Linked DNA regions of Homo sapiens: regions 1, 3 and 4 are each linked to region 2. Evidence: promoter capture Hi-C in 16 types of primary human blood cells and fetal thymus (Javierre and others, 2016). All regions are on one chromosome and are shown on one strand. The core of a region is centred on a gene start or on the middle of the fragment in contact, and the rest is flanking DNA. Distances in the headings are between cores, read along the strand shown.

Region 1 (7,656 bases), core at 4,658-7,157, 1.0 Mb before region 2:
CTGCAGCCTCTTCACCTGTCCCAACTTGGCTGGGGTGACTCCCACGACTAAGGGAGGAAGCAAAGCTCTGACCCCTTTCTTTACAGACCGTTGATAATAACTTCCTGTAAAGACCTTTTATTCCAGGCTACAAAATGAGTGAACAGTATTTATGGCATTTTTCCAGTATCAGAGTGTTGATGGGATCAGGTCACAGAGGGAAACTTGAATGGCTCTTTATTGTCAGAGCACTGCCTGATACAGACATGGCCAGCCACACAGAGATATGAAATGCTTAAAGACTGCACAGGCAGAACAGCCCCTCTAAAGTCTCTGCCAAGATAAAGGCAGCTGTTCCGGCTCACTTAGGTTGGCGGAGCAGAGAGCAGGTACCAGTTGGGCAACTGGGTGTAACCTGGGGAGAGCAGATGTTTTTTTGCAAAATTCTGAAGGCAACACTTTATTTGCTCCTGGTTTTTTGTTTTTGTTTTTTTTTCACTTCAGCTATGGGTCATCATTCCTTTTTCTTTGCAAACATCCATCTCATTTGTAGTAGGAAGCAGCCACTTACCATATTGTGAGCTATGAGTCTTCTTAAACACTGTCTATCTCCTAAGGCCAAGCAGTTGTGATCTCTTTTTATAGGCTCAGCTGCTGTGGCCTTTCCAAATAAATGCCTGTTTGGTGACCCATGTCTCAACCCCAAAGTGAGAAATGTATTTCAAAATTGCTTCAAATACTGCCTATATTCAATGCTTTTGGATCTAACTAGATTAATTATAAAAAGCCCTCTTCCGTTGGGTTTGGATAGATAACTAGAAAAATGGAGTCTGAGCTTTCCCAAAATCCTCTCCGATTTAAACTAATCACAAATCTACTACAGCCACTATATTTTTATCCCTCACTTTAGAAGATATGCAGGTATGATTGTTCATTGAAGAGGCTGTTGTGTTTACAGGCCTCTTAAAATTCTGGTTTTATTGTTCAAAATCTCCAACGTACCCGAAAAACAATTATAATAAAAATTGCCCGAAGTATAATCTATTTCAAGTATCAACTCACTTAACTATTTTTCTTGTCATGGAACAATTTGGATATATGCAAATACTAGAACTAGGGGTGTTTTTTTCCCCTCTAAAAGACATTTTGCAGTGTCTGGAAACGTATAAAGTTATTTTTACATCTCACAATTTGGTGGTGGTGTTGGGGGGTGCCACTGGCACCTGAGAAACACCAGATGCTCTTAAATACCCTACAATGCACAGATGGTACCTCCATTCCCATCCCCAGCTCTGCCCTCATGCAACGAAGAATGATCTGGCCCAAAATGTCAATAGTGCCAAGGTTGAGAAACTCTGTGCTGGAAGAGATTGCCCCAAACTGGATTCTAAAAGAACTTGAGTTGGCGTCCCAGATCTGTGGATTCTGTGACCTTGAGTAAGTTACTTATCTCTCTGATCTCTTCTGAAGTGAAAAGTGATCAAACTGTCTGGGTGTGAGAAGAATATAAAAGGATATATGTAAAATATCTGGCCAGAAATAAGTTCAATCATTACTTTTCTCCCTTCTTTTCCCTAACAAAGTGTAGTAAAAGGCTCTGCCTCAAAGTGAGTTCTGAGAGAAAGGAGTTTTGAAGTACTCATATTTTTCACTGATTTGGTAATATCTCAAGATTTTATTACTTGCCTGTTTAAAAAAAAAAAAAAAAAAAAAATATATATATATATATATATATATATATATATATATATATATATGCGCCAGGTAGAGTTTGGTGAACTGAACTGAAGTTGTCTTTTTGGTTTGAGAGACTGCAGAAAGGATTTTAGTCTTCATTTAAAATTTTCTATAGTGGTTCCAATGGCATTGTTAATTTTGGGTGAGAAAAGCAGAAAAACTCTAGGTTTGGCAAGCAGACAGACCTGGATGCAAATTGTGTGTCTCTCCTTCTTGACTTTGTGACCTTGGGCACAAGGTATTCTTTCCAAGATTCAGATTTCCTCATTGGTAAAATGGGCATCATGACTTCTATATTTCAGATTTTTTGTTGAACAATAAATAATATAAATAAAGCAGTATCTAACACAAAGCCAAATGGTGTTGAGGATCTGCCTAAATCACAGTAGTTGACAGTAACAGTTCGCCTTGCTTTTGTTCTTGCCTCATTAAAGAGATGAGAGGTAGGCCAAAGGCAAGGAACCAAGGGCTGCCTACATGCAGGGAGCAAGCCCCATGGAACGGACCGGGGAAGACAGCTCACCTTTCAGGGAACAACCTGTTCATGGAAATCAACCCTACACATTTGTGCAAGATCTTCCAACTAGAAAAGTCTCCTAACATTCAGCCTGTGGTTTTTCAAAGAGAGGAAGTGGTCAGGTACCACATATTAACAGAAGGGCTCTGTGACAGACTGTATTTTCCAAAGATGGCTGCAACAAACTCCTATCCCAGACCACCCACTGAGAAACTCCGTAAATTAATTCAAGGTATTTTATTTTAATATAATTTTTGATATGCTCATTTGTTTCCATTTATAAATGTTATGCACACTCATTATAGAAAATTTGGAAAATGCCATAAAAAAGAGTTAAGATAAAAAAAATCAAGTTAGCAGTGATATTAAGATACCTTTTTGATGAATTTCTGCTTTCAAATGTGTTTAGCTACATAGTTTGGATACAAAATTATAAGTGACCACAATGCTAAGGCTGTGTCATCACATGCAAAACGAAGTGCAAATTAAAATAGTTATTGCAAAAATTTAGGCCCAGAACTTTCTTACCTACAGAGTCCCTGTAATTAAGGAAAGGTGTTTAGGATAATTGCCTCCATTTACCACTTTAGTTGTTTGAGGGAATGAGGTATCAGGAACTGGCTGGCATAAATTTTTCTTTTCTGATTATATAAAATGCTTAGTCCGACTATTTTTCTCAAAGTGGTTTTTTTGCTCAATGAAAAGCCGTTTTTAAAAAAATTAAATATACTTTGATTCAGTTGTCAAAAGAATCTTCATGTTTTCAATAACCAAATTACCAATCAATTCTATCAATTTAGTTTAAAATAATAATAATAAACCAACCCAGTCATTAATGAATTCAAAACAGATATTTCAAGGTATAAAATGTTCCTTGAAATTTTTCTTTTTCTTTCTTTCTTTTTTTTTTTTTTTTTTTTTTTTGAGATGAAGTCTCACTCTGCTGCCCAGGCTGAAGTGCAGTGGCGCTATCTGGCTCACTGCAACCTCCGCCTCCTGGGTTCAAATGATTCTCCTGCTTCAACCTCCAGAATAGCTGAGATTACAGGTGCATGCCACCATGCCTAGCTAATTTTTGTATTTTTAGTAGAGATGGGGTTTTGCCATGTTGGCCAGGCTGGTCTCAAACTCCTGACCTCAAGTGATCCACTGCCTCGGCCTCCCAAAGTGCTGGGATTACAGGTGTGAGCCACTGCGCCTGGCCAGAATTTTTCTAATAAGTGAAATTAAATATACTGTTCATATTATGCTGTTATTCCAAATTGAATTTACAGGTGGCAAATAGAGGTGAGCCAGTCTTGGTTATGCACTATATTTGCCCCCATAGTGCACGCATGTTAGTGAGTGTGGGGTGAGGAGATGGCTTGAAGACGAGGTAGACAAGAGAGGTTGTAAATATTTTCTAATTTTTTTCCAATAATTTAGAAGAGATTGCAAATATGTTCTTTTTCCAAGACTTAAGTCAGATACAAGCCTTCCCAATGACGTGTGAAAGGCAAATTTTGGGGGTGCTCCTAATTTTACATCCTATGTCTTATATTAAAAGATGTTGAATAAGTTCTTAGGTAGCACTTAGGATTAAGAGTCACACAGCACGCCTGTAACCCCAGCGCTTTGGGAGGCCGAGGAGGGCGGATCACGAGGTCAGGAGATCGAGACCATCCTGGCTAACACGGTGAAACCCCCGTCTCTACTAAAAATACAAAAAAAAATTAGTTGGGCATGGTGGCTGGCACCTGTAGTCTCAGCTGCTGGGGAGGCTGAGGCAGGAGAATGGTGTGAACCCGGGAGGCAGAGCTTGCAGTGAGCTGAGATCACACCATTGCACTCCAGCCTGGGTGACAGAGGGAGACTCTGTCTCAAAAAAAAAGAAAAAAAAAAAGGAGTCACACGGAAAATTGACTTACTATGAAATCATCAGAGGAGTAGATAATAGGTAAACAAAAACTCCCTTTGGCTTCTAGTCCAATCTTGAAGGCAAATACAGATTAGAAAAAAGCAAAGCTGGAACCCTGAATGTCACAGCCACACAGGCTATAGGACATAGGACCCATAAGGAAAAATCAGGGATCCCGGGGACAGGCAGGAGGTGGATTGGATGTAGGAACTATAATCTGGTGAGGAAGGGAGAGAAAGACTTTTGCCAGGAAAGGATGGATCGTACTGCCAAGGAATGCAGAGTGAGGCATTTCCTAGCACTGCAGACTAGCAGGACTAAGGGTTTCCTACTGGTACACTGTCCACATTCCTAAGCCCACATTTCCATTGTCTGTTTACTTAGGGTATTTTTTGGCTGATTGTTTGCTCATGTATTTGTTTCTTACTTTCAAAATGACTAATTTGAGAGCAGACTGCCATTCTACGAGTCATATTATGCAAAAAATAAGTAGATCGAAGCACAGGGACCATCTACCTTGCAAAACAAAGTCTTTGGTTCATTCAGAGTTGGTTAATTTTCTCAGTGCTTTTCTCCCCCTGGTGATGTTGAACAATTTTCTTTCTACCTATCCTCACTTCCAATGTGCTTGTTTTTAAGATCATAATTTGTTGATGAGTGGTTGTTTGCCAAGACCGGTCTTAGGGTCTGTGAAACACTAAAGTGTATATAATAGGCAAATCCTCAAGCTTTGTTTCAAAGATGTATGCTACCTTGACATGTAGCATTTTGTATTTGACAAAAAGGCAAGAGATCTGCATAATCTAGACAAAAAATGAAATCTTGTAATTTGCAGCAACCTGGATGGAACTGGAGGCCATGATGTTAAGTGAAACAAGCCAAGCACAGAGAGGCAAATATCACATGATCTCATTCATATGTGGGAATGAAAAAAGTGCATCTCATGAAGACAGAGTAGAATGGTGGTTACCAGAGGCTTGGAAGGGTAAGGGGGATGGAAGGATGATGGGAAAAAAAACCGAACATAAATACTGAACTGTACACTGAAAAATGGTAGAGACGGTATACTGTATCTGTATATTTTATCTCAATAAAAAGTGTAAGATATTAAAAAATAATAGGCCACGCACGGTGACTCACGCCTGTAATCCCAGCACACTGGGAGGCCGAGGCGGGTGGATCAAGAGGTTGGGAGCTCAAGACCAGCCTGGCCAACATGGTGAAACCCTGTCTCTACTAAAACCGCAAAAATTAGCTGGGTGTGGCAGCGAGCACCTGTAATTCCAGCTACTTAGGAGGCTGAGGCAGGAGAATCGCTTGAACCCGGGAGGCAGAGGTTGCAGTGAGCGGAGATCGTGCCATACCACTTCAGCCCGGGTGACAAGAGCAAGACTCTGTCTCAAAAATAAATAAATAAATATATACATACATACATATAAAATAATAATAAGAAGTAAATGTGGCTGGTTTCAAGCATGAGTGTGGTAGACTAATTGGGATCTTTTTGCCAAGGTAAGTATCATGGTGGGTGTGGTATGTGAAAGGCTTGGTGCCCAGTTGAAAGTCCTGTTCTCACATCATCTGCCTCTCATTTACGCTTCCTGTTACGACAGTAACCAGGGGTGATCACAAAACAGTAGGAGATGTATTTCCTGGTTTTTGCCGACTAGTGAGCATCTAAGAGACACTTGTAACTTCTCTGTGCTTACTCACACTCTGGGATTTCTCTCTCTCCAGCTTGGATAGGTAGTTCCTCTTCTTTTAAAATCATTCAAAACTATTTTCCCAACTGGCCCTATGCTTAAATAAAGCCAGTAAATTTAACTACGGTTTTCACTCAGTAACTCAGAGTACATAATAACTAATTGATTATTTAGTTTTAACAAAAGTGGCAAATATTAAAAGATATGACTTTTTTATGTAGCAAAGATAAACTCTTCTCCAAATCCTGCCAAAAGTAATTCTGAAGTAATATAGAAAGGGAAGGGAGAGAAGGAAAAAGAATTTACCAAAGACAGACTTTATATATGAAAATCAGTAGATAAACATAATACTAACTTGAGAGTAGAAATAATAATAATAGTAATGATGATGGCAAATCACAAACGGATAGTACTAAATTTCCCTCCCTTTTCACCACCTTACAGGATATCCCGTCTAGCTGCAGAAACAAAACATGGAAATGAATCAGTCGATAAAGGATTTTCTCTCATTAAAGATGTTGGTGATTTTGTCCCGTGTAGGGGAAGTTGAACATTAAGGTGGATGTCCATAATCTAAGGGGACCACGGTCATTCACTCTCCTTGCTATGGGATGCAAACTGTTTTGCATGTGATAAGAATGCCAGGCTAAAAGTAAAAAAAAATTTTATCTCAGTATGATAAGAAATTACGCCATAGACTGACCTAAACATTGAATTTTTTGACGATTGCCCCCACTGATAGATTTTGTATTTCTTAGTAAATCTCAGGAAATTAATATCCATGACAGTCTCCATAGAAAATACAAAATAGAATCATACAAAAATTGTGTATAATTTTTCTTTATGGGGAAAGAGATGGAGCAAAGAGCAATAATTTTGAGGAGGTGGGACCACCAGAGAGAATAAAAGAAGTTCTTATATTTAAGAGAAATTCAGAGGTCATTCAGAAACTATTATCGTGATATTTCTCATTTCAAAGAGATGTAAGTTTCTCTTAAACAATTTATATTTTTAAAAAGTTATAACGGAAAATGAGTGAGAAGTGAAAAGTCCCTTTTATTCCCAAGGTTCATATGACCCAGAAATGAACTTGCCCTAAGAATCAGGTTTAAGACATTCACTTTCAAGCTTTAGAAGGCCTTGAGCTTCATTTTTCCTGGAAAGATAAACTTAATATTATACATGTTATCATCCTGTTGGGATCAAAATGGAGGATTTGCTGGGATGAAATATTAAAAGATGGAGGATGTGAAGAAAGATTTATGTAATGCTAATTTCAGGCAGCTTTCAAGGTTAATGCTTGTCCAAATTTTCATGGCCAATTCCTCTCGCCCAAGGACCACATGGGCAGCTCTGTACTGCTTGTCACTGTCATCAGCCACTTGTGTGACACGTTGGCTGCAATTCAACAGTAAAGCATGCATATTCTCTACTGAACATTTGGGGAGCCTGCAGGCAGCGAGTTGCGATGTAAATGGAAAAAAAGAAAGTCTGATCATAGCCCTCACCATCATAAGTTATCTAGGTGTCCTGCTCAGGCTTCCAATGTGGGCACTCACACAGGCCACCCAAACTGCTGACATCCTTCATTGACCTTTTCACAGCAATTGTGAGCCTAATGACTTTGTTTTCGCGTTTTGGAACTGAACTTTACAAGGATTGCTTCCAATCCTGGGTGGTGCTGAGAAAACTCAGCTTCACTAGAATTTGGCCGAGACCACCAGATGCGTTTCATGTGAGGGCCTTTTCCCATAATCTGACCAGAATGGTTTATGAATGTTCTGGGGAGCAGAAAGCCGGCCCCGGAGGCTGAGAAAGGGCTG
Region 2 (7,204 bases), core at 1,909-4,408:
TTGAAGCGACCCTCTCTGTCCCTTTCACACCATTCAGAAACTCCATTCCTTCTAAGACAAAGACCAGCGCCTTGGGAATTCTCAGGGAAAAAGAGGACTCTAGTCCCACAAGCCTAGGGCACTTTTTTAAAAAAAAATCCTCAATATTTCACTTAAAACCCACACTTGATGCTGTGCCCCCCAAGTATGGGTTCCACAGATGCCCCCTCCAAAGTGCCAAGCTGCAAGGCTGACAAACCCCCTTTCCCCTGCCTGTTTGGCCTTGTAGCCAGGCCAGGACAGCCGTTTAGGGTTAGTGCAGCCCTCACCTTTGACCTCCTAGATCCGAGTGGCTGCCAGCACTACAACTTTGGCCAAAGTTAAAAGAAAACCACAACAAAAAATTTTTTCTGCTCCCAAACCCAGGGAAACCAGTTCTGGTTCAGCCGCCTGAGCCACCTTACCCAATAGCAACCTCCATCCCTAACTTTTTTTTCTTCTTCTTTTGCAATGAACTGCCTGAGCCATCTCTGAAGGAGGGAATTGAAGTTGTCAGGGCTCCACGGCTGGGTTGTGGGTGGGGGTGAGTTTCTTGGTCTAACTGGTCCTCCATTAGGAACCCCCGAATGCCAGGTTATCCCACTGGTGCCCGAGCTGGGGAAGGCAGTCATCTATCAGAACTGGCAGGAAAGGGAGAAGGGAGAGGAATGAGATGGGCAGGGAGGGGAGAGAAAAGGCCAGGCTGTGATCATCTTCACCTGCCCTGAGTCCAGCCTTCCTGTTCAACTATTCCTCGACCTTCGGCTGGGGATGAAGGGGGCGGGGGCGAAAGGGAGGGGGCACCCCCGAGTTACACAAGTGGCCTCCTTCTACTAAGAGAATGAGTTCACCTCCTCCCCAGAGGAGCCTCACCATCCATCCACTCAGTATAACTGATGAGACAAACCGCAAGGAAAAACTTCTGTAGCCCATATTTATGGTATTAATGAATAGTTAAAAAAGATTTACACTTCTTATGATCAATATTCTGAGTTATTTTGCTCAAAGTATATAATTACAGTGTCTTCAGAGTTTTCATCATTGTTTGAGGTGGCAAAACCATTTGTAATTTTCATTAGCCAGTAAACATGTAATTAACATTCAGCACTGTGTTTAACTTAATTCCTGTTTAAGACAAGGACAAGAAGCAGCCGAAGAGCGTTAGTTCCATTTGTCAAGTCTGACATACATCTTACCATAACAGTTTCCTAAAATAAAAGATCCGTGTTTCCCCATTATTCTTCTCTTAAAACAAAACAAAACAAAAATCCATTAGTTAAGACAGTATTAAACTGTGAGAGGCAGCATAGTTTATATTCAATTTTCACTAGTTACCGTATTCTTGCTTCCTTTATTCGTTTTGGGGAGTAGAGAAAGGGAGGGGGTGAATGAAGCATTCATTATCTGAAGGCATGGAATGGGGAACCCCTCCCCCCAAAAGAAATAGATTTCCTCCTCAGGAAAGTTCTAGAATAAGGACCGGAAAGGGGGGAGGCAGAAATCCACAGGGGAGAGGGGGAAAAATCACTTGGGGAGACTTGAGTTAAAAGTAGAAAATGAGGATTCCAAAGGATTCCTAGGAAAAATGTTGCCCTCTTGTCTCAAGTTCTATCTTTGATCCAGGACGAGGGAAGCCTGTCTGCCAGTCTGCGAGGCTGATGCTTTTTCCCCCTCCTCTTCCACCTCTGTTTTTTCCCAACTTGCTTTAGGATTAGCCTCCATCTCTCTCGACCCCAAACAGTGGAATTTGGCTGTGCCTTGGGTCGTCTTGCTTTGCAATATCGCCTATAGTTGTTGGCGGTTTTCTGCTGAGGCTGAGCCGTTTGCTCCAGCCTCCGACTAAACTCATTAAGTTGGGAGATTTTTTTCAATTGGACGGGTGTTTTTAAAGTCTCGTCTTTCCAGCCCCAAACAAGGTGTAACAACGCACTCTTCCTTCTAAGGAATGAGATGAGAGACAAGGATCACTCCAGACATCTCCTACCTACGGTTTGGGGTTTTTTTTCTTAAAGGCGAGGCTTGCATTCCTCAGCAGCTATGTACAAAGCTCCCTGAAACCTTGTCTCTCTAAAGTTAGTGTGCAGGGTTTTCCAAGGCTGAGAGAGCCTAATACATGGGGAAGCACTTCCTTGAGGTGGAAGATCTCTCCCTTCACCTTTCCTCTTTTTCCCTGCAGGCTAGTGCCTACTTTTTATCAGTTTGCACAATCGCTTAGATAAACACCGAGGAGGAGATTCTCTTTAATTATCAAAGACACATCTTTTCAGGGGGCCAACAAAGCATTTATTTCACCCGCCAAACTAAAGGAGAGTTATTCCAGTTTAGGAGGAAGATGCAAGCGGTTTGGGACCTTGAACAAGGCAAATATGGTTTTGGTATGTTTACTTACAGTATTTTTTCTCTCTCTCTTTCCTTTCTCACTTTTCTGCTTGTGCTGTGTGGGGTTGGGGATGACTTGGGGCTTTTCAAAATATCGGTTTGCTAACGTGTATGAAATGCCGAGGACTGTGGTTTAAGGGGTTCGGGGAAGGGGGGATCAGAGTCAATTCAATGCATTGCCATATTTTATTACATGTGTGTGGTAGGAGAGATGGTGGAGGGGGAGGGGGGAAAATACAATTGCAAAGCTGCCAAAATATGATTAAACCGAAGCGTTAAGACTGCGGAGCCTCCTATCTCCTCGTCCTGTCTCCTCAAACTCATTTCCTTCCACAGAGCAAACTAAAAACCAGTCCTATAAAGCGTGGTTTTGCAAGCAGCAGATGACTCGGTTTTCTAGCAAAGGAGCTGCTAGGCTCGCACTAAGTATCAGAATTTACTGTTCGCTTTGCCTCTGCGCTTCATTTTGCAACCTTGTGCAACTGACAGCCAGGCAGGCAGGGAGGGAGAAAAGCCTAGCCCGGCGCCCTCGGCCACGGTTCGGGTAGGCGAGCGCTCGGTTAAGCTAGGAGGAGAATCGCGACGAGAAGGGTACTCACCATCGGGCGGGGCGGTGGAGCTGGCGTGCGGATTTCAGGCAAACGTTTACCTTTTTGCTGTCTATTGCAACCGCGCCGGGCTGACTTAAGAAGCAATTCTGTGCTCTGTCCAGAACATTCAAGGAGCGGTTCCTCATTTTTAAAAAGCCAGCGAGAGAGACGACAGAGACAGAGAGAAAGAAAAAGAGAGGAGGGGGTGAGGGGGACGCACATAAACCCAGTTCAAAAAAAAAAAAAAATCACCTCTTCGCCAGTGACTCGGGAAACGCAGAGGTGGCGAGATCCGAGTACGGTCCAACCAAGCCAGAGCCAATTAATTTTAAATCCTGAAGAATTATTCAGATTAAAATGTACAGAAGTTTCGTTCTCCTATGCCTACGTGAGTCCAAAGTCGTTTCCCTTTAAGAGCTCCTTTTCTTTTAAAGTTGAATTTTAGGCAGCGAGGACTCTTACACTAGGGGGCAGACAGATACTGTACTTGCTCTAATCTTAAGCAATTTTTTCCCTCCCAGCATATGCTCTGATTTAGCACTGTAAATTTTTCAGAGGACCTAACTCTGACAGCCCCTGGTGATTTTCAAAGTACCACAAGCCAGTGGTTAAAAATTGCATTGACTTGGAAGTTCAGAGGGACACAATGGAAGCCCCTTTCCCTATTCATGGAGCTCCAGTGTGGTGGAAGAGAAAAACACACACGGACTAGATTGAGGGAAAGGAGGAATTCAATGAATCCTGGAGGACGGAACTGGTTTCTACTGAGTTCAGAGTTAAACTCGGCATTTGCTGGGGTCTGTATTCATATTGTGATTCAATCTGTAAAGAAATACAGCCCATCAGGCCACTTTCTGCAAGAAAATTATATTCCTGGGTGTTGAGTTTCTTTCTTTTCTTTTTTAGATTAGGGCAAATGTTGTCCCAACTTTCTCTAGGCAAATTAAAGCTTGCCATTCTTCTCATTATAATAAATTTACATCTGCAAAAAAAGACTGAGTTGGATTTTTAAAAAACAACAATAATATATTGATTTTATCTTCTCAGAGCTTTTTAACCTTAGACGCACAGCAAGTGAGCATCTCTGGAGAAGACATTTAAAAATATTTTTGCCCTTTTTTCTTCTCAGTCTGTAGTCTTGTCTCTTCTTCTATGCATTAAAATTAAGTATAATTCATACGGTGATTTTTTTTCTCCCTTGTAACAGCATTTCATAACTGAATGAGTCCTAAAATACAGAGTGAAACACCCCTGACTTTATGGCAGCCCTGTGATCATTTGCCTAGCAGGCTCCAATTTGTTAAGATATGGTTGGGAAATTATTCCATTTTAATCTAAGGCCATCACGCATACTTCAAATTCCAAAAATCTCTAAGTGGACTGGGGAAGCTCTTCCTCCTCGATATTGTTCCTTCCCATGTTTGTAAAAGGTAATCTGCTATGGAAGTCTCATTCAGGAGGTGAGATGAAGATTTCCCTATAATCAATTATTTTCATCCTCTATTGAGATGGGAATGCCCATTAGATTTCCTATCTCAACCCCAGTCTCATCACATCTCAGCTGAGCTTGTCCCGAATCTGCTGACATTTGTAACATTAGCAATTCCTGAATCATAGAGGTTGGAAGGGAAAACAACAACAACTACCAAAAACCTTCTCCTGTGTAATGATTTCTTTTCCATCCTTCTTATCCTCTTTAGGAGAAAGTTATATTGTGTCTCTAATTAACCTGAAATTCTCAGCTTGGCTTCATTCTGTGGCAATCTTATTACACACCAGGTTTATGATAGTTCAGTGTCCACTATAGGTTTGCTGGGCTTTTTTTTTTTTTTTTAACAACTTTCAAATAAACCGAGAACCTGCAGCTTTAGTGAAATACGTGATTTCATCGGAGAAAGAGTGAGGGCTGAGGTTTCGGGAATGAAGCTTAAAGAAGATTTTTCCTTTCCTAAAAACCAGCCCCTATCTGCCCAGATCTTTAGTCCTTACCTCATATTCTGCCTATGTGTGTAAAGAGAATTGAATGTAAAATGTGATCTATGCATGTCAATTATATGTATGGTTTATTTTTAAAATATCTTTACCCTGTCAATTTTTTTTTCAGCTACCAAGGATGTTTTCTGTGGTCATCAATTTACTCTTCATATGTGTTCATTTCTTTCCTGGAGCTCAGCGTCTTTTGTGTAAAATATTTTAATTGTTCACAAACCTGGTTGGTTTACCGGCATGAGGTTTTTTCTTGGTGCAAAGTGTGTACAAAGGAGACACAATTTTCTTGTATAAATGTGGAATAATGATAATTCACTAACTGGTCATAAACAACAAGTTTACTGCGTTGGAATATAGTGTGTTCTGAGAGCAATTCTACATGTTTGATGTTTAAAACCAGACACCCTGGAATTCAAAGACACAACTGTCTCAATTATTTTAGCACATGGAGCAGAATGGCAATAGGCTATGAAGTTGTTCTTTTTGCAGTGACTTCTTGAGGTAGAATATGGCTTGGGTTTGGTTCTTGTGACCTGTACTAGTATTATTTCCCATTTGGGGCAGAATCTCTGGGTGCGTTTTAATGACTATATGAATGCTTAAAAGGAACTTGAGGAACAATGAAGTCCGTACTCAACTGTTCTATGACCTAGAAGCATAGTCGGTGAAGTCTTTGTCTGTGTACATTGACAAATGTGCATCTGATACATGTGCGCTTACATGTGTGTACAGAGGGTGTGCACAGGGGAGGCTGGGCGGCTGCCTCCTCCTGTCCATCAGTGGGCAGAGGTCTTTCCCCTCTCACCATGACTGGGTGTGTGGCAGGATGTTGGCTGGAGAGTTAGCTAAAACCAGCGAGAGAGGGTAAAGTTGAGGAAAATTGATTCTAATTGCATCATGACAATCAGATGAAGTCTATTTCTGCTTCTCAGCATCCGAGATGCTTTATTTGGGCAATTAAAATGTCAGGCCACATACCTGTGAAATGTTAACCCTACAAGGAATAAACAGAAACAGAACGGCCTTTATCCTCTGAAAAGAATATATGTCATATATATATGTCACCAAACCGAACAAGTGATCAGAGTTAATTAAGAGAAGGGTTTGCCATCACCCGGATCTGGCCAACTCTTTCGTTTGGAAAATGCCTACAAGCTCAGTTCGTGGCACCTTCCCACCCTCACTCCCTATCCCTCTGCAAAGAAACCAGGGAACTTTTCTTTGGCATTGTGGGTACTAAGATGCGCCAGGAGTCCCGGGTGGTGCGCGAGCGGCGGAATTCGTGACATCGCCAAGTTGCGAGAGGCAAACTCCCCGATTCCATCCAAAGCCTCTCGCGGAGCCTTTAAGAGACGTTGTGTGTGCGCGCTGCGCTAGTCTCCCCGCCGGGGCGGAAACCTCGGGTGCGGGATGTGGGGAGAGCAGAGGCAGCGCTCGCAGGGCCAGCACGGGCCCATCCCCCTCTCGGCGGCGGCGGCGGCGGCGGCGCGGCCACCCCGTCCCCGCCCCCCCAACCCCCGGTCCCCCGCGTGCCCCGCGCCGCGCCGGCGACGCCGCTCGCGCTAGGACCGGGCTGCGCCCGCGGCCGCCATGGCGGGGCCGCCGCAGTCCGGCCAATGACGGCGAGGGGGCGGCGCGCGCGCGCCTGGCCAGGCCAACCCCGGCTGCTGCCTTATAAGGCGCGCCGTCGCCATGGCAACGTGCGCTAAGTTGCAGCAGTCGTGTCAAAGTTCACTATATAGAGAGCTCAGTGAGCTGATCGCGGAGAAGCCACTTCTGCCAGCCCCGGCGCCTATAAATCGCATTCCCTCCCGCGCCCCCCTTTTTAGCATATTTGATCACTTTGATTCTCTGTTCTTTTCTCTCCGCGGTGTGTGTGTGCGTGCGCGCGTGTGTGTTTTCTTCTTCTCCTCCTCCTCTCCCCGAGTTGCCTCCTTTCTCCGGGTGCCGTACTGCCTTTTTTCCCCTCTTTCATTCTTTCTCTCCGTCTTTTTCTCCCCCCTCTGCGCACGAAGGATGTGCTTCTAGGTGGTGATCTGCCCTCCTCTCTCTCTTTTATCATTTCTCCCCCGCCGCCGGCGAGTTGACTCTTTCCCTATGTGTGTGAGGCGGCGGCGGCAGCAGCAGCAGCAGCGGCTCCGGCGGCGGCAGCAGCGGCAGCAGCGACTTCAGCGGCGGCGGCGGCGCTAGACGCAGCGGCTCCGGGCCCGACCCGGCGGCTTCGGCGG
Region 3 (7,160 bases), core at 1,652-4,151, 1.7 Mb before region 2:
CTTTCTCTCTTCCCTAGCTCTGGCCACATTTCCCTACAGCTGTCATTGCTCTGAGAGTTTTCATTGGCACAAGACAGAGAACAGCTGAGCCTGCAGCTTCTATTGTCACAACTCTTTGACCAGCAGAACAGGAGAAAACTATACCTGACAGGACTCCTTCCAAAAGATTCAGCATCAATTCCATCCCAGCATCTTCCCCAGACCACAGGACCAAGTATCCCTGCTGCCTCACGACCATTACACCTAAAGACGCAGTATGTCTCTGCGAGTCTTCCCTGAAGCCTGGACCGCAATGAGTTGCCTTTCCTCCTAATCCTGGAGAGAAGAGAATTTCTGAATAGAAACCGGGGACCTTATTAACTTCAGAGAGAGAGAGAGAGAGAGACACTGAGTTTCAGGTCATGCCAGATTTATTACATAAGTGAGCAAGCCATAAAATGTAACGGTTTGCATTTGCTTTGTACTACTCAGTACCTGAGGGGGGAAAATTGATGTAAAACTTTTCATAACTCTTTATATTTTTGTCACACCACTAATTGATATCCTTTGCTCATGAAGATGGTTGGTACCTCATTTAATGTTATAGTTTTATGAAAGTGACAAGTGACAGCGTATGTGTTTGGAACCAAAAAGTTACCTTAGAAGGCATGGGGTCCCAGTTCCTTGTTTTATACATGAGTAAACTGAGGTAAAGGAGAAGTAGTTCTCTTGTGATCACAAAACGGCAGAGCTCTGTAAGAAGTTGACCCTTAGTGCAGTGCTCTTCTATTAATGCAATCAGGTGCCTGAGCAGGATTGGCCAAACCTGACCTTGGGGGCCCATTCTGGGTTGCCTGGACAACAAGCTAGCCAGAAACAGCAGCTCTTACTCTTAGCAGGAAAGGGCTCTTCCTCACACAGGGGACTGCAATACCTTACTACCTGAGTTCTCCAGGTGTGCACAGCCAGCATTCCCTGACAACTGCAAAGTGCAGGCCCCTAAGAGCCTGATGCCTGAGGATGACCAGCCCACCCCATCCTCCTCAAGGCTCTTCTTACCCTTGCCCTGTCAAAAGAGACCTACATGGGCTGAGCACCAGGTGGCTCACACCCGTAATCCCAACACTTTGGGAGGCCAAGGCGGGCGGATCACTTGAAGTCAGGAGTTCGAGACCAGCCTGGGCAACGTGATGAAACACTGTCTCTACTAAAAAACAACAACAACAACAATTAGCTGGGCATGGTGGTGGGCACCTGTAATCCCAGCTATGCGGGAAGCTGAGGCAGGAGAATCACTTGAACCCAGGAGGCGGAGGTTGCAGTAAGCTGAGATGGCACCATTGCATTCCAGCCTGGGTGACAGAGCAAGACTCAGTCTTAAAAAAAAAAAAAAAAAAAAGAAAGAAAGAAAGAAAGGAGACCTACATGAGGCAGGATGGAGGGCAGAGCTGTGGAGGATGGAATGGTCACTGGAACACAGAATCCCACTGCAAGTCCTACAGCTTCTCTAGGGGACACCTAGAAAACCGGGGGGGGCCTTGCTTTCTTTTTGCTACGCTTGGCCTGATGTAAGCTTTGCCCAGTTACATGTATTCTTAGCCCACTTTGTGTGATCTTTTGAAATGTGTTCCCAACCCTGACACCTGACAGGTGGAGATCCATCTGAGACCTACCTGGCAAGGCACACACTTAACCTCTGACCTTTAATTTTCTAATTGCAGACTAGAATTTTATCTGCTTCTAACTACTTAATAGGTTTCCAGAGAAAAATCGACGTGTGCTTTACTTATGGGCGAGGTCCTTGAAATTAAAGCATTTTATAATTCGGAGCATTCGGGTTTTGTGCCTTCATACAAGAAGCTCACTTGGCGAAAAAGTATCACCTCATTCTCTTGCTAATTCTGGGCTTATCGCACATTCAGTGTTCCATAAAGCTTGACTTGAAAGCTTTCATTTCAAACCCAATTCATATGAATTAGTGTACTACTCAAAATGTCAGGCTGCTAATAGGACATACATAGCAACTGGAAATTGAAATAAGTGCATTTTAATAGAGCTCAGAATTAGGATTTCCTCTATCTGTTTGACGTAGTATCACAATTATAATTGAACATAATTTTTTTTTCTGTTGGCATTTAATGATCCTCTATCTAGAATTATCAATCATCCCGAATTCATTATACCATTTTTCAGCGGTAAAATGGAAAAAAAGAAAGAAATTCAAAGCTTTTTAATTATGGTATGAACATGGAAAATCATGTCACCTAATACAGATTAAGGGAGAAAATGGATGGATCTAAGATTACTCAATTGATCATTCTATCGAGTAACCAGTGAGATCCCATGTAATTATGGCATTACATAATAGTTATTTTCATTATGTTTAATTTTATATGAGAAAAGTTTTATGTTACCTTTTAATCTCTAAAATATAGTCTAGTTAATTATTGACAATTATTACTTTTTGAGCTTTTGATAAAAGTGAATTTCTTCTCCAACCCAAATGCAATATTTATGAATGCTTGGCTGCCCTTAATATCAGTTTTTCAAAAAGTTGTGGACATTTTAAAGTAATTACTGCTCTTCACTTTAGCTTTAGTTGAACACCTGGGTCTGACTTGAGGGCTCCAAACATAAAATAAAATAGTACAAAAGTCAGAACTGCTGTCAAAAAACAATTAGAAAGCATTGTATTCTGGGCCATGAGGAAGTTAGATTATTCAGTTTCTAATTCCTGTCAGGCACAGATTCTAATATGAATGTGGACATTTCCTTATTATCGTAGATTTCCTAGACATAACCCTATTGTCAGTGATAGAATTCTTCCAGGCTGTTCCTATTTCTGTTTATAACCAGAAGAGGGCAGTCAGGTTCCATGATTCAGAGATAATTGCCACTGCCTCAGAAAGTAAGATTTCCAATAAATCTCAATGATTGGAATTACGTTTTCCTTTAATAGTATTAAAGGGCGTTTATAATTACCTGAAGAGTTTTCTGCTTTTATTAAAAACCTTACAACCTTGGTGAGATGGACACTTTCTTCAAAAGAGATGAAATGAAGGTATATATTTATTTGGATTATTTCTCCCTTGAACATGTTATTTCTGTTCCTATCAGCCTTCTTCAACATTTAGCTGGCACATGAGGGAGGGAGAAAATCTTATCATGTAGATAGTCCTCCTAATTTATAACTTTGTGGCATTTTATAAGTAAAAAGATATCTATTGTACAAGGCAAAGAACATTCATCAGCACTTCAGTTTCAAATCAAGAAGAGAGAGAGAATTAGAAAAAAAAAAGATTCACAGCAATTGAAAAACAGATATCTGCCAGAGGAACTTAAAATTCCAAAACACTTCTAGCAACACTTACTTACCATGAGAAAAAAATAATTACACTTCTAAAATAAAACTTTGAGTAAAACAATGTTAGAAGAATGTGATGTATTTTTTTCCTCCTGAGATCTCTTCTATAAGCAGTTGAAAGAAAATAAACATAAAGCTGAACACAAAATACAACAAACATTTCTGCTACCTTTTTCTCTTCTTTATTAGTAATAAAACCAGAGACTAGAAACCCCCTAATTTACTGAAAATAGAAAAACAGATATATCGGAATGAAAGCTTGAGTATTCAAAAAATAAATTATTTTTAAAGGGCCAGCCTTAATTTTAACATATAAGAAAAAGTTAATTTCAGGACGTAATTTCAATAAAACGATAGCCACAAGAGTTAACCATAATTCAGGCTACTTATTCTTGTTTGTATTTGAAATGTTCCCTCTGTGTTAATAGTGCTTCTAATGCTATTTCTAGGTGATTGTGCAGGGAATCAGTACTGTCTGATGCGGACAAATATGTGTATACTTGTGTTTATATGTAAACTATATATATATACGTATGTGTCATATGGCTGTGTACATTTCTATCAGCTACCTGCCTACAAAATAGCTCTCTCATGGTTATGGAATTCACCAGCCCCGCATGCACTCCTCTTGAGGCCTGTGGATTAACCAGGAATCCAGGTGATTTTCTATTTGATCCATGCCTCCAGCCCCTGGCCCACCGTTCCTGTAGATGCTGCCTCCAGAAAGAGCTGCCTCTGAAAGTGACCTTGCTCAGCAAATGCCTATTGGCTTACACAGAAGTAGCAATGCCTTTCCCAGAAGAGGCGCTGCAACTGGTGCTGCTGTAAAGATGGGTATGGGATCTGGGGTGGGAGGGAAGAGAGAGGAGGGAAGCAGCTTGCCAAGTCGCTTGGGCTACTTATAAACAAACTCAGCCATTGTTTCCCAAACCCTTTACAGTGGAGAGGGGAGCTGGACACACACTGTGTCCTGGACTCTATTTATGTTCTGTGCTTGGGGAGAGCTGCTTTTAAGAGACTGATTCGGTTTGGAAGATGATTTCCATCAGCTACTTTTAAAAGATACGTGCTATTTCAGCACAAAGCTGAAGCCCCTGTTAGAGCTGCACTAGGGATTAGGAAACGGCGTGTATTTTAATGCCTTATGAATAGGAGTAGCTGATAAAAGAGGCTCTTGTTACCACTGCTACATTTAAATGTGAAAAGCAGCTGCTTCTAGGGAGGAGGGGGTAGGGGAGAGGAGAAGAGATATATTATTTTCATAGGGATTTAATTTTCAGACTACACTGAAACCATAGAATACCAATGGCCATTCTCTTATCGGCAGCTCTCTAATCGTACTGAGATCTGTAAGATTGTGGAGAGGGAAGGAGAGGGACTGGGAGGCAGAGAAAGGGATTGTGTGTAGCGATGAGGCTGGCCGTTTTCATCTGCGTGTATGTTTTGAACCTCAGATCAAAACGCACGCGTGGTGTTTTCTTCTTCTCTTAGGAGCATTAACCCTTTAAACTTTCAAAATGCCAGCCAGTTAAAGAGTTTGATGCAACTATGCTGTCTTCAGAGCATGCAATTTTTCGATGGGCCCTGAGAATAAGATGACCACTGAGACCTCATTACAGAATATGGACCAGGTGTACGCGCCTGTGGCCAGGTCGGGGCAGGGGGCATGAAAGAGGGTCTCTTCCAACATTTCAGAGACAAGGATTTCAGGTAGAATCCAGGACGTATTATGAATCCAACAGAGAAAGGCTCTTTCTGCAAATCTTATGACCACCGGAAGCTGATGATATAAATAAGACCTAGGATTATTAAACAAACTAGCAGGTATTTGCCAAATACTATCAGTATTTGAAGAAATACGACTAAAGAATATAGATATTTTGAATGAATGAATCAATCTGGGCACCATTATTTTTCTCTCCATATTATCACTTAATAGCCTGGTTTTGTTTATTCTCATGTTGGACTTATTGAAACTGATCGCTAGTGAATTTTCTGTGTGTTTGACCCCTGACCTGCCCATGAGGTTTCTAAAGTACTTCTTAAAAAACCTAGGGTTTTGCTCCAAGACATTGTGAAGACATCTTTCTGATAAGAATTAGTTGCCTTTGGCCGGGCGCAGTGGCTTACATCTGTAATTCTAGCACTTTGGGAGGCCAAGGCGGGCGGATCAAAAAAAATTAGCCAGGTGTGGTGGCGGGTGCCTGTAGTCCCAGCTACTCGGGAGTCTGAGGCAGGAACGTCACTTGAACCCAGGAGGCGGAACTTGCAGTGAGCCGAGATCGCACCACTGCACTCCAGCCTGGACGACAGCGAGAGACTCCATCTCAAAAAAAAAAAAAAAAAAAGAATTAGTTGCCTTCCCCATAACTACTCTTACTCTTTCTAATTTTTTGTAGTATTGCCATTATCCAATGGTTTAACTCCAGAAGTTAAAGGATTAAAAACAAGTCTGGGAGTGATAAATCGGTAGTTCTCACCTAAGTTATAATTAAGGGTAATTCACATGTAGAAGATGGTTTGACAGCTCTAGCCCACGTGCTTAGACACTTGAATCCCAATGAATCATTTGAAGCCAAAGTATAACCCCGGCTGTCTTTGCACATGATGTGCAGGTGGATAGACTTTGAGACCGTCCTCTATCAACCAAGAGCAAAAAGAGAAAAGAGGAAAAAGGGCAAATATCCAGCTTCCCTGCCACACATCAGAAAGCCAGAAACAGGCGGCAAGATGCTTCCTGCTCCCAAGCACAACCAGGCTGGCCGCCCACAGCCACCCTGCACTGCTCTCGCACCTGCCCAACCTGTGCTTGTAATCGGACAGGGGGCATCCCTGGCCTGGGTGGTCCTGCTGGCTAGGCTCTGAGTGGTCAAGTTCCTGGCAGCCTGGGTTACTGGAGAAAGCCACTTTGGGATATTAATCACAGCAAACGAATGCGCTCTCCTGGCTCATGCATGGGGCACATGCCTAATCACGGGCTGAATAATGTTAAAAGAATGTAATTTGCTTCCCCTAAAATCTCTTCTAGAACAGCTACCGCAATCGGGTTCAATCAATATTTTGATTTCCTGACCCAATTTCTCTGCACATGAAAAGTAAAAGCCAGCAATCCAGCTTCACCAGGTACCATTGCAAAGCGAGTAAAAGAGACAAGCAGGGAGAAAGAGCTGGAGCCAGCACCAACAAGGCCGGGCAAGTCGAAGGAAGTGGCTCAGCACCCAATTGTGAGCTCTGAGAAAGCTGTTGCTGAAGGCTGGTCTGATGCCTCCGGCACTGATGCCCATCCCTGTTCTCTGCTGCAGTCGCCACTGCTGCTCCAGCCAACATCTCCGCTTGCTTCTGAGCTCTCTTGCTTGCGTTCTTCCGTTTTGCCCCTCCTCTTCCCCCTCTCCTTCTTCTTTGACTTTTTTTTTTTTTTTAACTTGGCTACGGAACATTAAGTTTGACGAAGCGAAAGCAATTCAACATCTTTTAACTGAAGGAGGTTGATTTTCATTTGCTACCAAATGGCTCATTTTTACCTTTTTAGCTCCTGGAAGAGTAAAAAGTGAGAGGTCAGCCCTGCATCACCATGGCAACCCGGGCAGCTCGGGCCTGGAGCAGATGAAGGGAGGTGATAATGGCAGGGAAGATTGTCCCCTTACTTGGCATTTTTCTCCCCATTCAGGGATGTGCCTGGATGTATAAAAACAATCATGTCGTTTTAGGACTCTAAGTTTTAAAATTTGGCTGCTGCATTGTCTGGTCCAGGGCTGGGACCTGGTGTGGATCTGTGTGGGTTTCGGATGGTGTTTGAGCCCATCCTTGCCTTCATCAA
Region 4 (7,457 bases), core at 3,156-5,655, 1.1 Mb before region 2:
ATTGCAATATTATCTATATTACAAAAATTGGAATCAATCTACCGTTATTCTGAGATGGCTCTTTCTTTTCTTACTGTATTTAATTTGTCCGAACATAGTCAACATTTCTCATTATTGCATATGATGGCTTGCAATTGGCCAAATAAGAGAAATGCATTTTTTCCCTATGAAATCTTCTACAACTATTTGAGTTCATTAATTTATAAATCATTGATGAGCATCTGGTGACTTTTAAAAATAAATTAGTAATATTCCTTCTGTCCTAAAATTGACCAAATAAACAGATTTCTGGGGAGAGAATGTGTCTATAAAGCTCACAACAGTTAAAAAATGTGCAATGATAGATAAAGAAATATGTTCTGTATATTAAAGGGTCCAGATCAAGGACAACTAACTCAACTGCAAGAATCAGGGCAGAACCCTCAAGGAGGAAAAGTTCAAATCCATGCTTTGGGTCTAAATGTGATAAGAAATGGTAAACATTCACAAGGGTTAGTCAATATCAGTAATGTCAACAATACATAATACCTTTGAAAATGTCAAGATTACATTAATGTATTTTACCCATAGCTTTTGGTGGACATCTCCAACCCCACTTCTAGGGAGGGAAGGGGGCGCACTTTCTCTGAGTCCAAACCCTCTGGAGAAAATATGAAGTCAGCTTTGTTAAGTGACTCTAATAGGGTACAGGAATGGATTCCAGCTACTTCTGGTTCTCGGTCCTGGTTTTACTTTCTGTTTTATCGTCCCCAATAAATGTAGCAGGGAGAGGAGATGAGGGTCCATTCATTTATCAAGGTTGGTTGGAAAAACAAAAGTAATTGTAATTGAATAGTCTTCTCTTATTTCATAACATCCAAAATATAAACTGATGGAAATTATTCATTGCCAAAGGCCACTGTGACAGGCAGAAGGCTATCAAGTAGGTGGCATGGCAAAGCCACTGGAAGGCTCACAGGCATTATATTTTATTCTTTCTTTTGTTCACCCATTTATTAATTTGTTTAACAAATATTGCAACAAATATTGGAAGACAGACTCCTTAGTTTCTTAAGAATGGTTTAGGACCATAAACATATTTCTTATGATGATCAATTAACACTACATTAATATTCTCAAAGAGGGTAGTAAGCTATCTTCAAACCAAGGCCCATCCGCATCCTTGCTTAATGGGTTAGAAACACTGCATTTAAGAAACAAGAGTTTGTTCTCCTATCACAAATAATTTAAAAGACCAAATCAGGAATTAAGTGAATCTAAGTATTTTATTCTTTCTAAAAATGTAAAGAAATGGAGGGTCACTTAATCCAAAGCACCTGCTACTCCTTTTGATTCATTTTGGGTAAAAGTGGGCCTTGAGGGATGGGCCTGGAACCCCTGATTTAAGCAGCATCAGCAAAAAACAAAAACCGAAAAAAACCCCGGCTTATCTTTATCTGGAATTAACTACAAATTCAATTAGAATAAAAATCTTCACCCACCCCGTGGAAAAGATTTTACACAAAGAAAAGCAGATGTTGCAACAACATTGAGAGCACTTTGCTTAGCAGTGTATGGAATTTTCCATCTTGTAAGCCCAATCACCGGTGAAAGATACACAGAGCCAGCTTCTCTAACTCACAAAACGACTTCCATTTCCCATGCTCCTTTAATTAGATTTACTTCTTTAACCAAAGTAATATTGGGTTGAAGGAAGGAAGGGCGGGGTGGGGGAGACTCTACTTAATACTGGCTTAGCAAGTTTAGAGAAGGATGAAGGGTAAGAGGTGGAGGTCTATTTTGGGGTTATTTTACAGATAAAGCTTTTCTTATTTATTAGGAGTTTGTTCAGTTAGAAAAAAATAGTAACAAAATTAATTGCTAAAGGTTATGCTGAGATCATACCTTAGTTCTATTTTCAGCTTTGAACAGATTATAGGACAATGAAGCATAAATAGAAATTAGAAAAGATTTTGAACAGACGCCCTGTAGCACTTTTTCACATCGGGATGAGAAATGTGCAGAACGGCCTATGAGGCAAAGTTATAAATGGAGAGGAACCAGGATCATGTAGGCCGCACTTGGGGAATAGAATGTGGGAACAGAAGGGGCCTAGAGGGGCTTCAGTGACCTCTGTTTGGTTTCTGGAAATGTTTTAAGTTTGTCTTTTTTAAGCCTACCTTAATTTGTATTTGTTAACCAGAATAGAGAGAGAGCCCCAAAGACAAACCTGAGTTTTTGCCGGAGAGAAGCCGTGAACTTACTTGCTTATAAACTTAATTGCAAGTGACCATTCACTCTTCAGGGTTGTGCCCAATACCAAGTAAGACAAAACAAACCCATATGTGGGTCAGTTTCCATTTCTTTCCATACATTGATGTTGAAATATGTTGAAATATGCCATAGTTTTGTTCAACTTCTTCTCATTAAGGATTAGGAGAGTCTCCTAACAGGTATTTTCATTTTTGTCTCCTTAACTCAATTTTGGACTAACTCATCTCCCAAAATTCAGCAAGACTGAGTTTTCTAAAAAACAAAGCTAGCTGTGAAAGTCTCCTGTTTAAAATGAATAAGGCTCCTCATCTTCTTAGGGAAAAAATATCCTAGCTCCTTATTTTCTACCAAGCCTTCTTCTCTTTCCTGGATCATTTCCTATTGCTTGTTTCTACTCTCAATCAACTTCCCTCCACTTCCCTTGAACATGTTAAACCCTTCTTAAATTCGTCATTGTCAATTCAGTTTGTTTTATACTTTATTTATTTAATGCCTCCTATGTGCCGGGCAATTTCTTTCTTTCTTTCTTTCTTTCTTTCTTTCTTTCTTTCTTTCTTTCTTTCTTTTTTTTTTTTTTTTTTGAGATGGAGCGTCACTCTTTTGCCAAGGCTGGAGTGCAGAGGCATGATCTCGGCTCACTGCAACCTCCGCCTCCTGGGTTCAAGCAATTCTCCTGCCTCAGCCTCCCGAGTAGCTGGGATCACATGCACCTGCCACCATGCCCGGATAATTTTTGTATAGAGACAGGGTTTCACCATGTTGGCCAGGCTGGTCTCGAACTCCTGACCTCAGGTGATCCACCCGCCTCGGCCTCCCAAAGTGCTGGGATTACAGGCGTGAGTGCCAGGCACTTTCACAGGCACTGGGGTAGGACAGTAAACAAAAACAAGTAAAATCCCTGAACTCTTCTAGCAGACATCTTCTAGTAGAGAAAGATGGACTATGAAGCACATTTAGCCAATAACAGAGCATGTGGATTGCCAAGAGTACTATGAGAACAGCAAAGATGTGAAAGAACAGTGATGCTTGGACAAGGTGGCCAGCAAAGGTCTCTGTGCAAAGGCAACATTGGGTTGAGTAAAATAATGAGGGAGTGAGATGATGGAATGGCAGCAGCCTGAGAGCCACCTTATATCATCCACAATTTGGGGGTGCAGAATTCATCCAGAGTGGGGGCCATCCATTGATATTTTTAAAAATCCTGTGTAGGGTATTCTAATGTTTATTTAGGAAAAACATGCTTTCAAAGATAAAGGCTTTGGCTTCAACTCTCAGTCACGGCCATTGGGTGAAGACGTTGCATGAACTTATGCATTATATCTCCCTCTGATTGACAAGTAAAGAAGACGAAATATGGCAAGAGTGGAAACAGGGAGACTAAATAGGAGGCTACTGCATGTGGCATGAGGAGAGGTAGGAGGGTTTTATTGGATATGGTAACAAATGGTCAGTTGAGCTAAATGTTAAAGATGGGGCCCACAGGATATCATTCTTACATATAATGTTCCTAGACCCTAGAACACTAGGTCCACTTCTATTCATTTATTCAATCAGATTTCATCAGGGCTGTTCCTTGTACTCCCCAACATGGGAGTTTGTTGTATGCCTGGCCCTTGCAGCCATCTGAGTTTCCCACGCTCTCTAGGTGCCGTGACGGCTCCATAGTGAAGTGCTTCTTTCTCTGTGTTATGACAACACCTTCACGCCTTGATACACCAGGAACCATATTCTCATTTTATTGTTTTCATGTGTATCTCTCTAGATTATATGTTGTTCACCTTCATATCCTTGGAGTCTACCACAGAGCCCTGCAATTAGTAGGTGTTAGGTCATTGATGAATGCATGATGAAATGAATAAATGAAAGAATCAACAAATGAATGAATAAACAAATAAATGGATTCTTTGTACTAGAGTCTCATAGCAAAAACCAGAAAACAGAAAACAAATTCGTGCACAATGTGGAACAGTCATCTCTTTGTTAATTAAACATTTCCTAAGCCTCCTAAACTAACATAGCTGTATGTTCTCAGTAGATGACTAACATTTCCTCAATTGTAAATTGTGATAATACATGAGGTGGAATGTATTAAGAAGAAGACAGCAACATCTAGCTGCAAACTCTTCTGTCTTTTCCCAGTCTAGTGGCACAGTATTAGGGAGGTGCTGTAAAGAGAAAAAGGACCAAGCCCTATGGACTCATTGTCCTCTAGAAAGCAGGTAGTGCAAAGGAAAAACTGCACAGCAGGGAGGCTGGTTGTTGGTGTAGCTCATCTTTTTAAGCTGTGCACAGCAAGCAAGGGAAAGGACACTGAAGAACCAAGATGGTAGGTTAGATTTAGCATGTTTAAGGAAAGGAGAAGGAGAGGATATCTGAAGTTTCAGAGTGTTGAAGAGGTCAGGGATTAAGAGTTTACTGTAGCCTCTGAACTTGGAAACTCTTGAATGCCTGAGGAAGATATAAAAGATGGGATTTCCTCTTTAGTGGTGCTTTGTTAAATATCACATACTCTGCCATTCAGCTATGGAACCCTGCTTTTAAAGATTTCACATAAAATACTAACACATAGATTATAAATTAAAAAATGCATTCAGCTTAGCTTGGAGCCTGGCACACAGTTAGCATCCAGCAAAAGTGAGTTCTTTCTGCTGTGGTACTTGAAGAGATAAGAAGCCCTTTCTTGTATAAAGTAAACAATTTGGGTGATGTTTATACTAAAATACCAGACTTCACCAATACCCACCACTACATCCACATAACAAAACTGTACTTGTAATTCTTACATCTACAAAAATAGAAAAACTTTTTCTGTTATTATTATTGTTAAGAACAACAATAATAATAATACCGCTGCAAATTATGAAGGTTTTTCTTAGGCTAACCTCAGTCTTTTTTTTCTTTTTCTCCTAGAGACAGGGTCTTGCTCTGTTGCCCAGGCTAGAATGCAGTGGCACGATCATAGCTCACAGCAGTTCAATCTCCTGTGCTCAAACAATCCTCCTGCCTCAGCCTCCCGAGCAGCTGGGACTATAGGCACACACCACTGCACCTAGATAATTTCCCTTTTCTAATAATTGTACTGATCTATGTTGACAGACTGTAAAAATTTCTATATATGTTAGCACTCATTTTAACACTCATTTAGTCTTAGAGTTAAAAGAGTTAACACTCTTTTATTTTAAGACAGAGTTTCGCTTTTATCGCCCAGGCTGGAGTGCAATGGTGAGATCTCAGGTCACTGCAATCTCCACCTCCCAGGTTCAAGGGGTTCTCCTGCCTCAGCCTCCTGAGTAGCTGGGATTATAGGTATACGCCACCACGCCCAACTAACTTTTGTGTTTTCAGTAGAGACAGGGTTTCACCATGTTGGCCAGGCTGGTCTGGAACACCTGATCCACCGGCCTTGGCCTCCCAAAGTGCTGGGATTACATAACATTCATTTAGTCTTAGGTATTTCATGCCCACCGCCAGTTCCTGTGTCAATGTCTCTTTAGTTGTGTTGGGAGCCTTGATCTCTAGTAGACATTTTAACAAAAGTTCCTAAGAACAATAAAAAAGCAGCCCTTCCTGATCATTATTTCATTTTTATTTCATCCTGACTACAGTTGGTGAAATATTAATAAGTAGGGTAGCTATCATTATGCCCATTTAACTGACAAGAAAGTAGGCTCAGACTGGCTGAATACTTGTCCAGGGTTACATGAGATTAAAGTGACAGTCAAAATTCTTTGGGTCTAAGTCCAGAGTTATGTAGCCACTGAGTTACAAGGCTTGCAGAAATGTTTTTGTAAATTAAACTTTCTATTTTAGGATAATTGTGGATTTATTTGCAGTTGTAAGAGAGAACGCAGAGTGATCTTTTACCCAGTTCCTTCCAATGCTAACATCTTGCAAAACTGTAGTGTAACAAACAGGATATTGACATTGCTACTGTCAAGATAAGAAATATTTCTATCGGCACAGGGATACTTCGTGCTGCCTTTTATGGCCACTCCCTCTTCCTTCTTATCCTTCCCCCTCCTTAACCCCTAATGAGTCTCCATTTCTATGATCTTGTTATTTCAATCATGTTGTTATATAAATAAAACAATATACTATGTAACATTTTAAAATTATTTTTGTCACTCTCCATAATTCTTTAGAGATTCATCCAGGTGGTTCCAGGCATCAGTAGTTTTTTTTCTATTAGCATGCATGTATCACGGTTGGTTTAATCATCTTCCCCTTGAAGGACATCTGGATTGACTTTTTGTTTTTCTTTTTTGTCTTCAGTTCTCAAAAGTTTGACTATGAGTGTCTTGCTATGAATTTCTGTGAGTTTATCCTATTTGGGATTCACTCAGTTTCTTAAATCTGTATATTTATGTCTTTGGCTAAATTTAAACACATTTCAGCCATTATTTCTTAGAATGTTTTTCAGGTCTGCCATCTTCCGGTCTTCTAGGACTCAGGGAATGCAAAGGTTAATTTTTTGTCTGTCTGTTTGTTGGTTTTTGGTTTTGTTTTATTTTGGTTTTTTTTGCTATAATCTCGAAGGTCTTTGAGGTTCCTTTCATCTTTTTTTCACTCTATCTTCTCTCTGTTGTATAGATGGTCAATTTATATTGTTTCCTCCAGTTCACCAATATTTCCTCTGTCTCCTCCATTCTGCCCATGCATTGAGTTTTTTATATTGGTTATTGTATTCTTCAGTTCAAAATTTTCCATTTGACTCTTTTATCTTCTATTTTTGGTTATGACTTCCTATTTCTTTGTTGAAGCTTTCCAAATAAATTTTCATTAGCTACAAGAATGTTTTAATTGTTCATTGGAGTATTTTTATGATGGCTGCTTTACAAGCTTTGCCAGATAATTCTAACATTTGTGTCATCTTGATGTTGGCATATATTTATTATCTTTTCTCACTTAGTTTTAGTTCTTTCTTGTTTTTGTATGATGAGTAATTTTCCACTGAAATATGGACATTTCAATATGATGAGACTCTGAATCTTATTTAAACCTTTTGTTTTAGCTACCTTCATCTCACACCATCCTCACAGACGAAGGTGGGTGTCGCTTCATTACTGCCAGGTAGGGTAAAAGTTCAGGTTTCTTAACTCAGCTTCTGTTGACCTCTGAAAGGGGGCTTCTCATTCCTGCTAAGCAGGAGTGGGAGTTTCAGTTCCCCACTAGGCCTCCAATAAAGCAGTTATCTCTTGGCATAC

Evidence for each region. The method cuts DNA at HindIII sites, captures the fragments that hold promoters and counts their contacts. A CHiCAGO score of 5 or more calls a contact.
Region 1: a fragment that was not itself captured here is called in contact with the fragment with the promoter of NR2F2-AS1 in region 2 in 1 of 17 cell types (endothelial precursors); the score reaches 9.3 in endothelial precursors.
Region 3: a contact is called between a fragment that was not itself captured here and the fragment with the promoter of NR2F2-AS1 in region 2, in 1 of 17 cell types (endothelial precursors). The highest score is 6.9, in endothelial precursors.
Region 4: a contact is called between a fragment that was not itself captured here and the fragment with the promoter of NR2F2-AS1 in region 2, in 1 of 17 cell types (endothelial precursors). The highest score is 6.0, in endothelial precursors.

The regions. Positions count from the first base shown.
Region 1 is chr15:95,296,658-95,304,313 of GRCh38, forward strand. The region is part of intron 1 of LETR1 (lymphatic endothelial transcriptional regulator lncRNA 1); the gene reads right to left. Among named protein-coding and RNA genes, the nearest start is that of LETR1, 27 kb to the right of the region's middle. The HindIII fragment of the contact is 2,103 bases long and covers 4,857-6,959 here.
Region 2 is chr15:96,323,960-96,331,163 of GRCh38, forward strand. NR2F2-AS1 (NR2F2 antisense RNA 1) reads right to left here and starts at 3,159. Exons shown (of 5, transcript NR_125738.1): 1 at 2,997-3,159. It overlaps NR2F2 (nuclear receptor subfamily 2 group F member 2), which reads left to right and starts at 6,741. Exons shown (of 3, transcript NM_021005.4): 1 at 6,741-7,204. RefSeq lists a silencer at 6,494-6,633. The HindIII fragment of the contact is 16,559 bases long and covers 1-3,934 here.
Region 3 is chr15:94,667,794-94,674,953 of GRCh38, forward strand. No RefSeq gene overlaps it. Among named protein-coding and RNA genes, the nearest start is that of LINC02852, 82 kb to the left of the region's middle. The HindIII fragment of the contact is 1,396 bases long and covers 2,204-3,599 here.
Region 4 is chr15:95,248,329-95,255,785 of GRCh38, forward strand. No RefSeq gene overlaps it. Among named protein-coding and RNA genes, the nearest start is that of LETR1, 75 kb to the right of the region's middle. The HindIII fragment of the contact is 5,211 bases long and covers 1,801-7,011 here.